3 separate regions of the Homo sapiens genome follow, and regions 1 and 3 are each linked to region 2. The links are contacts of gene promoters, found by promoter capture Hi-C in blood cells and fetal thymus (Javierre and others, 2016). All regions are on one chromosome and are shown on one strand. Each heading gives the region's core, a stretch centred on a gene start or on the middle of the fragment in contact. The rest is flanking DNA. Distances are from core to core; before and after follow the strand shown. Region 1 holds the start of LMTK2 (lemur tyrosine kinase 2). Region 2 overlaps SLC25A13 (solute carrier family 25 member 13). Region 3 holds the start of BHLHA15 (basic helix-loop-helix family member a15).

Region 1 (3,093 bases), core at 276-2,775, 1.8 Mb after region 2:
AAGTACAACAGGGTGATTGTGTCTCTTTCCTAGACCTTTGCCTTCCTTACCAATTCTGCATATAATCAGCAGAAAGCCGTGAACTTTTTTTTTTTTAAGACAGAGTCTCGCTGTGTCGCCCAGGCTGGAGTGCAGCGGTGTGATCTCAGCTCACCGCAACCTCCGCCTCCTGGGTTCGAGCAATTTTCCTGCCTCAGCCTCCCAAGCAGCTGGGATTACAGGCATGCGTCACCGTGTCTGGCTAATACTTTTTGTATTTTTAGTAGAGATGGGGTATGACCATGTTGGCCAGGCTGGTCTTGAACTCCTGGTCTGAAGTGATTCACCCACCTTGGCCTCCCAAAGTGCTGAGATTACAGGTGTGAGCCACCGTGCCCAGCCAAGCCATGGACTTTTAAATTCAATGTTTCTCGTTCCAGGTATTTGTCTCCTTAGATATTTATTGGCTTGCCTCAATCATCCAACAAATATTCCCTGGGCATCATCTGTGTGTCCAGTGCTGTGTTAACATCATCGACAGCTGGCATTTAGGATGGACATTTGGGGAGTTTGGAGAATTGGGGAGGTTACACTGTTGCCAGGTGGCAAAGTCTCATCTGATAAGATTGAAATCAGCTCCTCTCATGCACACACTGAACCATAGCGCCTCTCCAGAAAAGCTTAGCATTTTCCCAACCCCCATGCCTCTGACCACTATATTACTTGTGTCTGGAGAGTGCTTTCTCTATCCTCTCTGCAGGACTGTGTTCTCACCTCACCTCTTGGTGGGGAGAAGGCCACCCCTGGGAGCTGCTCTGCCCTGGTACCTGGGACCAGGGCCATGCACCATTGCTTTAGAGAACACCTGCTCCGACCCAGGTCCTGCACCAGGGATTTCCCACCAGCTGAATCAGACACAGTTGCTGTCCTCAGGGAGCTTACAGTCACGGGTCAATAGGATACTGCAGCTAGGATAGCAGTCCACACAGGGCCAGGGCGGGGCACTAAGGAGATGACAGTCATTTCTCCTAGAGAGTCATAGATGAAGTCATATGTCAGGTGAGTCTCGACAGATGAAAGGAAGAGTGTCTGCCAGGTGGACAAGAGGCAACAGCTTGAGCTCAGGAGGTGAGTCAGTGGGTGATGCCGAGAGAGGCATTCTCTTGATCAATTCAAGTGAAAAGCCCAAAGCTGTTTGATGGCTGAGAGGATGTGTAGGTCAACTTAAGGAGAAGAGCCTAAAACAGCTCTGACAAGTAAAAAAAAAAAAAAGGCAGAAGACAAGACAGGCCTATTTTTGCATGTTATAAAACACCGAGAAAAAAATATCAGGATGATTGTCATGGTCTTCTTTACATTTTCCTGTATTTTTCAATTTAAAATAATTGTTGGTGTTACCTGCTGCCCACGCACTCCTCCGTCTGCAGGGGGCGCACCGGCCGCCACCGCTCACTCCTTCAGGATGATGGGCGGGGCCTCCTGGGCCGGTGTGGACTGACGAGTGGCTGGCCGCCCTGTCCATCACGACATCCCGCCCCCGCGCTACGTCACATGACGCAGCCCATCATGGCGGCGGGAGCGCGGCTTCCCAGGCCCGCCGCTCCGCAGGGCTGCTGGCGTTGCTGCTGTTGAGAGGCGGCGGCGGCGGCGCAGGCGGGCGGGAAGGATGGTGTTTCTGCGACTGGAGCGGCAGGTGCGGACCGGGAGCCGGACCGAGGTTTGGCAGAAGCAACGTGTGCTCGGGAGCAACCGGCGCGGGTGCCACTGAGGCAGCGGAGGGAGGCAGGATCGACTGACGGGCGAACGGACGGACGGACGGAAGGCGACTCGAGGGCCGGCCCCGGAGCCGCGCCGTGGGCGAGATGCCGGGGCCGCCGGCGTTGCGGCGGAGGCTGCTGCTGCTGCTGCTGGTCCTCCTGATCGCCGGCAGTGCTGGGGCCGCGCCACTTCCGCAAACAGGTGCAGGTGAGCGGGCCCGCGGCGGGGACGGGGCTGCGGGGTCTTCGGCGTGGAGGGGAGGGGGCGGCAGGGCCGGGCCGGCCTCGGCGCCGAGGAATCGGAGGGCCTGCCGGGGGCGGGAAGCCCAGGGAGGCGAGTGATTAGGGAGATTTCTGCCGCAGGGGCGTGGGATTTGGGGGGGCGGGAGCGAGGCGACGTCGTTGGGGCTGGGGAGGGCGGCGGGCGAGGTAGCAGCCACCGACCCCTCCCGGGATAGGCTGCGGTGCCGGCCCTGGACCTGTTGCCTTAAGATCCTCAGCTTATATCGCTTCCTGGCAGTTCAGCTTCCCTTTCCAGATGTCACCTGCCTCTTGTGCTTTTTTTTCGCATCTCATAAGAACCGTTTCTTAGCCCTAATCATACTTAAATGCAAATGACTTGGCGAGCTGTGCGGAGTTTGTTTTCGCTCCTTGCAACTTATTCTGAAGTTGTAAATTGATTTTAGACGCTGTGCTTTTTATTCGGAATGTATCTCCGGGGATGAGAAGGAAACAACTATAAATATTTCTATTTTAGGAAGCCAGTGATTAGAGTAGCAGGCGTTGAATAACTATTGACAAACTGGCTTAAGGGTGATGGAAGTTTCTATTTTAGCTAACGTCAGTGTATGATTTTCTTTTCTCCCCCCCCGCCCATTTTCTCAACATCGTTTTTATTTGGGGTTTATTTTCCTAAATAAAACTTCAACCCAAGAAAACATCCCAAGTTGGGTCATTTTTCTAAAAAGGAAAAAAAAATCTAGGCTAACTTGGCGTTATTGACTGCCGCCATTACCTTTGAAATGGGGAAAGATTGAAATTTCATACATTCATAGAATGTTAGAGTTAGAAGAGACCTTAAAGAAAATTTAGACCAATTTCTTCTTTACGTAGTAGGAGATACTGGGCATGTTGGGTCAAATGACCTACCCAGGGTGACACAGCTTCGTTGTAGGCAGAGCCCCAAAGCCAGGTCTTAGATACCCCTAGTTGTATGATTTTTTTTAAGTCTTGTAACTGTTTTGGAATACTCTCGAGGTCAAGAGTTATTTTGGAATAATGTTAATTGGGTACAGAATGTGGATGTACTGTCTCCAGTAAAGACATATTTTTCAAACAAATCTACGATGAAAGCTAC
Region 2 (3,403 bases), core at 868-3,367:
CAATCCCAGCCCCTCGGAAGATGACTGGCCATATATGAAGATAGGGTCTTTGAAAAGGTTATTAAGTTAAAATGAGATGATGAAGGGGACCCTAATCCAATAAGACTGGTGTCCTTATACGAAGAGGAAATTAGGATACAGACAGAGAAGGAACCACATGAAGACACCCATCTACAAGCCAAGGAGAGAAGGCCTCAGGAGAAACCAAACTTGCTGGGGTCTCCATCTCAGACTTTTAACTTCCAGAACTGTGAAAAAATAAATTTCTGCTGTTTAAGCCATCCAGTCTCTAGTACTTTGTTATGGCAGCCCTAGCAAACTAATACAATATCTTTTAATATGGTCCCCATATTCCAGCTGTTTCGATTCTTTTCTTTATTTGTTTTTAACCCAGGCTCAAGCATTGTATTTGGTCATCAGGTCTCTTTGGGAGTTTCCTTTATTCCAGCCTTCTTCATTCATAACACTGACATTTTTGAAGTCAAGCCAGAGGTCTTGCAGCATGTCCTACTTTCTGGATTTGTCTGATTGTTTCCTCACGATTAGATCCAGATTAAATATTTTTGGCAAGAACATTTTTAGGTTCATGTTGTATACTTCCCAATGCATAATATCAGTCGGTAACATAATGCTAGTTTATCCCATTTGCTGATGATCACTTGGTTGAAGCAGATTTCTCCATTGTAAAGGTACTTTTTCCCCTCTGTAAACAGCAAGTAATTTACTAGGAGATGCATTCAGACAATGGGAATTCCAACAGTCTTTTACTGAAAGGCTTCAGCATCCAATGATGATCCATGCCTGAATCAATTATTACTTGCAGGTGGCAAAGTCAATTTTTTTTCCTTTTTCTAATTCTAGCATAGCTTCTACCTTTATTAGCTAGCATTCTTCAGTAAAGAAACTTTATCAGTCTATTCTCCAACTCACTTTGGCTCCTTTTAGGGAGCAATAATTATCACTCATTATGTTGTGTTGGATTTTTTTAATTCCATGTGTTACAATCCCTTTCCAATTGATTTGTCTTCATTGTGGTAAAATATACATACCATAAAGTTTACCATTGTAACCATTTTTAAGTATACAATTCAGTGGCATTAAGTACATTCACAATGTTCTACATCACCATTACCCATTTCATCATCCCAAACATAAACTCTAAACCCATTAATATCCAATTGAATTTTAATTGCCATTATTTTTTATAACAATGATATATACTCATATATAGACATACATACATACATAATATGCATACATACACACAAGAGTGTGTATTTAAATAATGAAAATCACTTTTAACTCAATGTACCAGGAAGGGCAAATGTTAATATTTAAAGTTAGCTAATTAAAACCATTATGCAAAAAGCTGGTGGACTTAAGATAACAACATCTGAAACCACTGACCAAAACGTAACATCACAAGAAACAACCAAGAATTAGGTGCTTCCTCATGTGAGTACCCAGTACCAAGTACCCAGCAATGTGATGGGAAGCTCTAAGCACCATCTAGGAAGTATTCTAGCCAAAACCAAAAAAGACTCTAACTTGATCAAGCTTTTAGATTAAACTGTCACTTGCAGGAAATACTGAGGCCAAGCAACACCACAAAGACGTAATCAGCAAAGTCCAAATTGTGGGAAATTACAGGAAAGACGACCCAATTCCCTCATCAAATAAACTGCAAGGAAACAACCAAAAAGGGGGCAGGAAAACCTATAGATTAACAAGATTTAAAAGACGTATCAACCAGCCATGTGTGGACTATATCTGAATATTGATTAGAACAAACCAACTATAAAAACTGTAATCTTAGGACATGGGTTTTAGCATTCCTACAGGGACTTCAAGAAATGGGAAAATAGAACCACAACCCCTTCTGAAAACTGAAGAGAAGAACTCAGACAAATATATATATATCTGCCCACCAATACAGAGAAATGAAAAGAAGTATTTCTTTCTGACAAAGGCTAAAAAAAAAGAAACATTTCTGTCTCTGACTGACCTCTATGTTAAACAAACAAATAAACAGGCTCTCTTTTATCCTGCTACCCTGTTGCCATAGCTTTATGGCAAGAAATATGAACAGAGGTTGTTATGTCCCGTTCACAAACTGCTGTGAAGAATATGAAAATCGAATGAGTCTGGGGTAATACTGGGAAAGTACTAAATTAAAAGTATTGAAAATGCAGCCAAGACCAAGGAGATTTTAGCTGGCTAAAGAGTTTAAATTTTATTCTGCAGGCAACAGAAGCCACACTGCATAGCAAGATAAATTAAAGAGGGCAATGCAGCACACTGGTTATGTGCTTGGGCTCTGGAGCCAGGCTGCCTGTGTTGAAATCATAGCTCTCCTATTTACAAGCCATGTGATCTTGGGCAAGTTATGTAATCTCTCTGTACCTCAAAGAACTTAACTACTCTGTACAAATGAGTTTCTCGATGTATATTATGAAGGTGAGAGCACTTACATGTCATAGGATTGTTATGAAGATTGCATTAGTAGATATAAAGTGCTTGGAACAGTGTCCGGCTTTTACAAGTGTTATATAAACATATGCTAATATTATTATTATTATTTGCATAACCTTTTTGAGCCTTAGGTTTCTTTATCTGACAAATGAGGTTATCAACACGTTCCCTGCTACCTTGTAGATGATTATAAAGATCAAATAATGAAGCTTGGGTCTTTATATTATCTGGTTATATTAATCCCTGAAGACTTTGAGCTTCTTGAAAACAAATCTAGTAGCTTACCTGTTTTTGGAATCCCAGCACAGTGTAGGCACTGACAAACAGTCGTCGTCACTTATGCCCTTGAATGCACTTTTTAAAGCTGCTAAGTACTGTACCCATGAACACGGTAGTGCTATTATCATGGCAACAAGAGCCAATCTTAGAAAAGTCCTTTGGCAGTCTGGACAGAATGGAGAGGAAGGTGTAGGGATGAGATCAAAAGCAAGGGGATCAGTGGGAGCTACAGCAATGGTACAGCTACAAAATAAAGAGGCCCTGAATTTGAACAGAGAAGATAGGACATACATGCTCCATGGCCGTAGAAGGGTTTCACTGATCCACCTCTTTTGCCACATCCAATTCAGGCTGATGGTGTCTCTCCTATCTGCCCATAACAGGTACTTAATTGAACTAACTAGAAACTTTATCAGGAAAGTGAAGCTGCAGGATGAAGTCAGGAATGACCAAAAAGATGGATTCAGTTATAAGAACTGGTGAGTTCTAGGTCAGCAGAGTTTGAAATATCTTTGAGACAGACAAGTTGAGTCTTCCAGCTCAAACTAAACAGCTAAAAGTGCAGGGCTAGAGCTTGAGACAGCCACCCAGGCTGAGGAGTGTTAAGGAGCCAATACCCATTAAGGGGGCAGGTAGTGCGGCAGGAACTGGA
Region 3 (3,210 bases), core at 287-2,786, 1.9 Mb after region 2:
CATTTTCATTTCCAAGGACCTCATTTGGCCCAGCCTCAAATGAGCTTTAGGCCAAGAGAAGAACTAACTAACCTTGGCTCCAAGCTAGCCTTTCTGTGCCCGCCCCCCGCCCCACTATGGCCCCTCTGAGTTCCCACCCAGAGGTACTGAGACAGAGCGGCGAGACCCATGAGTGTGGAGCCCAGGCCTGCCAGCCAGCGTGACACTCACCGCACCCCCAGCAGCGTGCAGTCACCGCACCCCTAGCAGCCCCGAATAGTCCCTGAGCAAGATGCTGCTTTGGCTGGGCGTGGTGGCTCACGCATGTAATCCCAGCACTTTGGGATGCCGAGGCGGGTGGATCACTTGAGGTCAGGAGTTGAAGACCAGCCTGGCCAACGTGGAGAAACCCCGTCTCTACTAAAAATACAAAAATTAGCTGGGCGTGGTGGTGCATGCCTGTAATCCCAGCTACTCGGGAGGCTGAGGCAGGAGAATCGCTTGAACCCGGGAGGCGGAGGTTGCGGTGAGCCGAGATCATCTCGCTCCATTGCACGCCAGCCTGGGCAGCAAGAGCGAAACTCCGTCTCAAAAACAAACAAACAAACAAAACAGGCGTTCCCAAGGACTGCACACCTGCCCAAGGAGCCCCCCACCCCCACCCCAACTCGGGCTCCGCCCCCAGCCCGTAGGAGCCCCAGGTTCCCCTAAACATCCCGGGCGGCGGGGCGGGGGATCCCCTGGGAGATGCCCGCGTTTTCGCGGAGCGGCTCGTCCCGGAGTGCTCCTGGGACTTGGGATCTGTGTGCTGAGCCTGAATCGGGGCTGCCCCTCCTTCCGGCGGCTCCCAGAGACCTGTTTCCCATTGGCGGAATGGGCCCGGGCCCCGCCACGAGTGGAGAGGCCGGGCAAGGAGGATCGCGGGAGGCATGGATGCGGGGGTGCTGTGTCAGGGGGAGGGTCGGGGAAAGCGGGCGGGGGGAGGCTGTCTCGGGCACGGATATGGGGTAGGCGGGTGGGAAAGGCGCGAGTGGAAATTGAGGGGGAGGATGGGGAAAAGCAGGTTGTGGGGAGGCTGTCGGGGGACGGGAGTAGGGGAGGTGGGGACGCAGGCTGTCTTGGGGGGGCTGTAGCGGGAGAATGGGGAGAGACGAATGGGGGGAAGCTATCTCGGGGCGGTTGGGGGGCTGTCGGGGGAGGATGGGGAGAAGCGTGTGGGGGAGGCTGTCTGGGGGAACGAGGGTCGGGGGCTGTCGGGGGATGGTGGGGAGAGGCGGGCGGGGGTGGCTGTCTTGGGGGACGAGGGTGGGGGGCAGTAGGGGGAGGATGGGGAGAGGCGGGCGGGGGAGGTTTTCTATCTTGGGGGCGGGGCGGAAGCTGGGGGCGGGGCTGCGCGGCCACCTGGTCCGGGAGCCCCAGGCGCCGGCCTCCCGCCCGCCCGCCCGCAGGTGCCGCCACTGCTGCCCAGCGCCCGCCGGGACACCCGGACCCCGGCCCCGCCCCGGCCCCGCCCCGAGGGCTCATTTGCATGCGTCCGCGGCCCCTCCCGGGGCGGCTAAAGCGACGTGTCCTTGTCCCCCGTGGGCAGCCTCGGCGCGTGTGGCCGCGGATCCCCAGGTAACCCGGGAGCTGGGAACTCGGGTGGGGCCGCGGGGAGGGGACCCAGGGGCAGGACCTGGCGGTGGGGTTGTGGGGGTTGTGGGGGCTGTGGGGAAACCCGGGTGGGGGACTTCTGGTCTGTCTGGAGGCTCCACGGGGCCCATCCACGTGGTGGGATTGGGGGCTGCCGCCAGGCCCTGGCCATTGCCGACCTCTGACCTCCACGGCTGCCCCATGTCCGCAGCGGTTCTGGCCCCAGTGCTGTCCCATGTCCGCAGCGGTTCTGGCCCCAGTGCTGTCCCTGCACGTGTCACGTCCAGCGGGGCAGGACAGTGAGAGCCTGGTGGCTGGAGTCACTGCCCGCCCACGGGATGAAGTCAGTGCCGCCTCCGGCAGAGGCGCCCCCTAAGCTAGGGTGGGGGACGCATTCTAGGCAAAGTGTCAAAGGTCACCGAGCTCAGGAGGCACTCTGGGGGCAGTGAGGGGCATGAGCCAGAGGAAGATCTAGGGGTCAGGATGAGTCATCCTGGGGGAAGGGGGACGCAGGGACAGGGACAGATTCCAGAGGTCTGTTTGAGGTAAAGCAAGGGCGTGGGTGTGTGTGGGGTCAGCCCAGGGCTAAGCGTGTGAACAGAAGGACCTCCAGTCGCAGAGCGCCAACCCCTGCCCCTGGTACCATTGCTGTCAGCAAGGAGGAGGCTGCCAGGGACGGCACCCCAGCGGGTCCCCTGCCCATGTGGGGTGACCACAGAGTGTCCTGTGTTCTGGATTTCAGCTCCAAGGGCCTCACCTTCCTGCCGCCACCTCCTAGGACAGCCAGTCCAGGGCCATGAAGACCAAGAACCGGCCCCCACGGCGCCGGGCCCCGGTGCAGGACACAGAGGCCACCCCCGGGGAGGGGACGCCCGACGGGTCCCTGCCGAACCCGGGGCCAGAGCCGGCCAAGGGTCTGCGGAGCCGGCCGGCCCGGGCCGCAGCAAGGGCTCCGGGCGAGGGCAGGCGCAGGCGGCCAGGACCCTCCGGGCCCGGTGGCCGTCGTGACAGCAGCATCCAGCGGCGGCTGGAGAGCAACGAGAGGGAGCGGCAGCGGATGCACAAGCTAAATAACGCCTTCCAGGCCCTGCGTGAAGTCATCCCCCACGTGCGCGCGGACAAGAAGCTCTCCAAGATCGAGACGCTCACGCTGGCCAAGAACTACATCAAATCGCTGACGGCCACCATCCTGACCATGTCCAGCAGCCGCCTCCCAGGCCTGGAGGGGCCGGGCCCCAAGCTCTACCAGCACTACCAGCAGCAGCAGCAGGTGGCTGGGGGTGCGTTGGGGGCCACGGAGGCCCAGCCCCAGGGCCACCTGCAGAGGTACTCCACGCAGATCCACAGCTTCCGAGAGGGCACCTAGCGCCCAGTCCTGGGTGGGGGTGGCGGTGGCCGCAGCTGCCTGGCCTGCTCCTCCCAGCCCCAGTCCCTCCAAGCCACGAGCCCCAGATGGGCGGTGACACCCCACAAGGACACGGCCTCAGCGGTTCCATTTTCCCCCGAACATTCAGCCACTTCCCTGGAGCAATTTTTCCTGCCCCGCTGGGGACCAGCGAGTGGCCTAGTTGCGGCTGTGGCCCTGGACAGCGGCGTGAG

What was found. Contacts are between HindIII fragments. The CHiCAGO score rates a contact against its expected background, and 5 or more counts as called.
Region 1: the fragment with the promoter of LMTK2 here is called in contact with a fragment that was not itself captured in region 2 in 1 of 17 cell types (neutrophils); the score reaches 6.6 in neutrophils.
Region 3: the fragment with the promoter of BHLHA15 here is called in contact with a fragment that was not itself captured in region 2 in 1 of 17 cell types (M2 macrophages); the score reaches 8.3 in M2 macrophages.

The regions. Positions count from the first base shown.
Region 1 is chr7:98,105,337-98,108,429 of GRCh38, forward strand. LMTK2 (lemur tyrosine kinase 2) reads left to right here and starts at 1,526. Exons shown (of 14, transcript NM_014916.4): 1 at 1,526-1,944. The coding sequence starts at 1,842. The HindIII fragment of the contact is 4,003 bases long and covers 658-3,093 here.
Region 2 is chr7:96,309,839-96,313,241 of GRCh38, forward strand. All of the region lies in intron 1 of SLC25A13 (solute carrier family 25 member 13), which reads right to left. Among named protein-coding and RNA genes, the nearest start is that of SLC25A13, 11 kb to the right of the region's middle. The HindIII fragment of the contact is 1,124 bases long and covers 1,556-2,679 here.
Region 3 is chr7:98,209,903-98,213,112 of GRCh38, forward strand. It overlaps BHLHA15 (basic helix-loop-helix family member a15), which reads left to right and starts at 1,537. Exons shown (of 2, transcript NM_177455.4): 1 at 1,537-1,596; 2 at 2,354-3,210. The coding sequence starts at 2,408. The coding sequence ends at 2,977. RefSeq lists a silencer at 1,409-1,598. The HindIII fragment of the contact is 21,052 bases long and covers 1-3,210 here.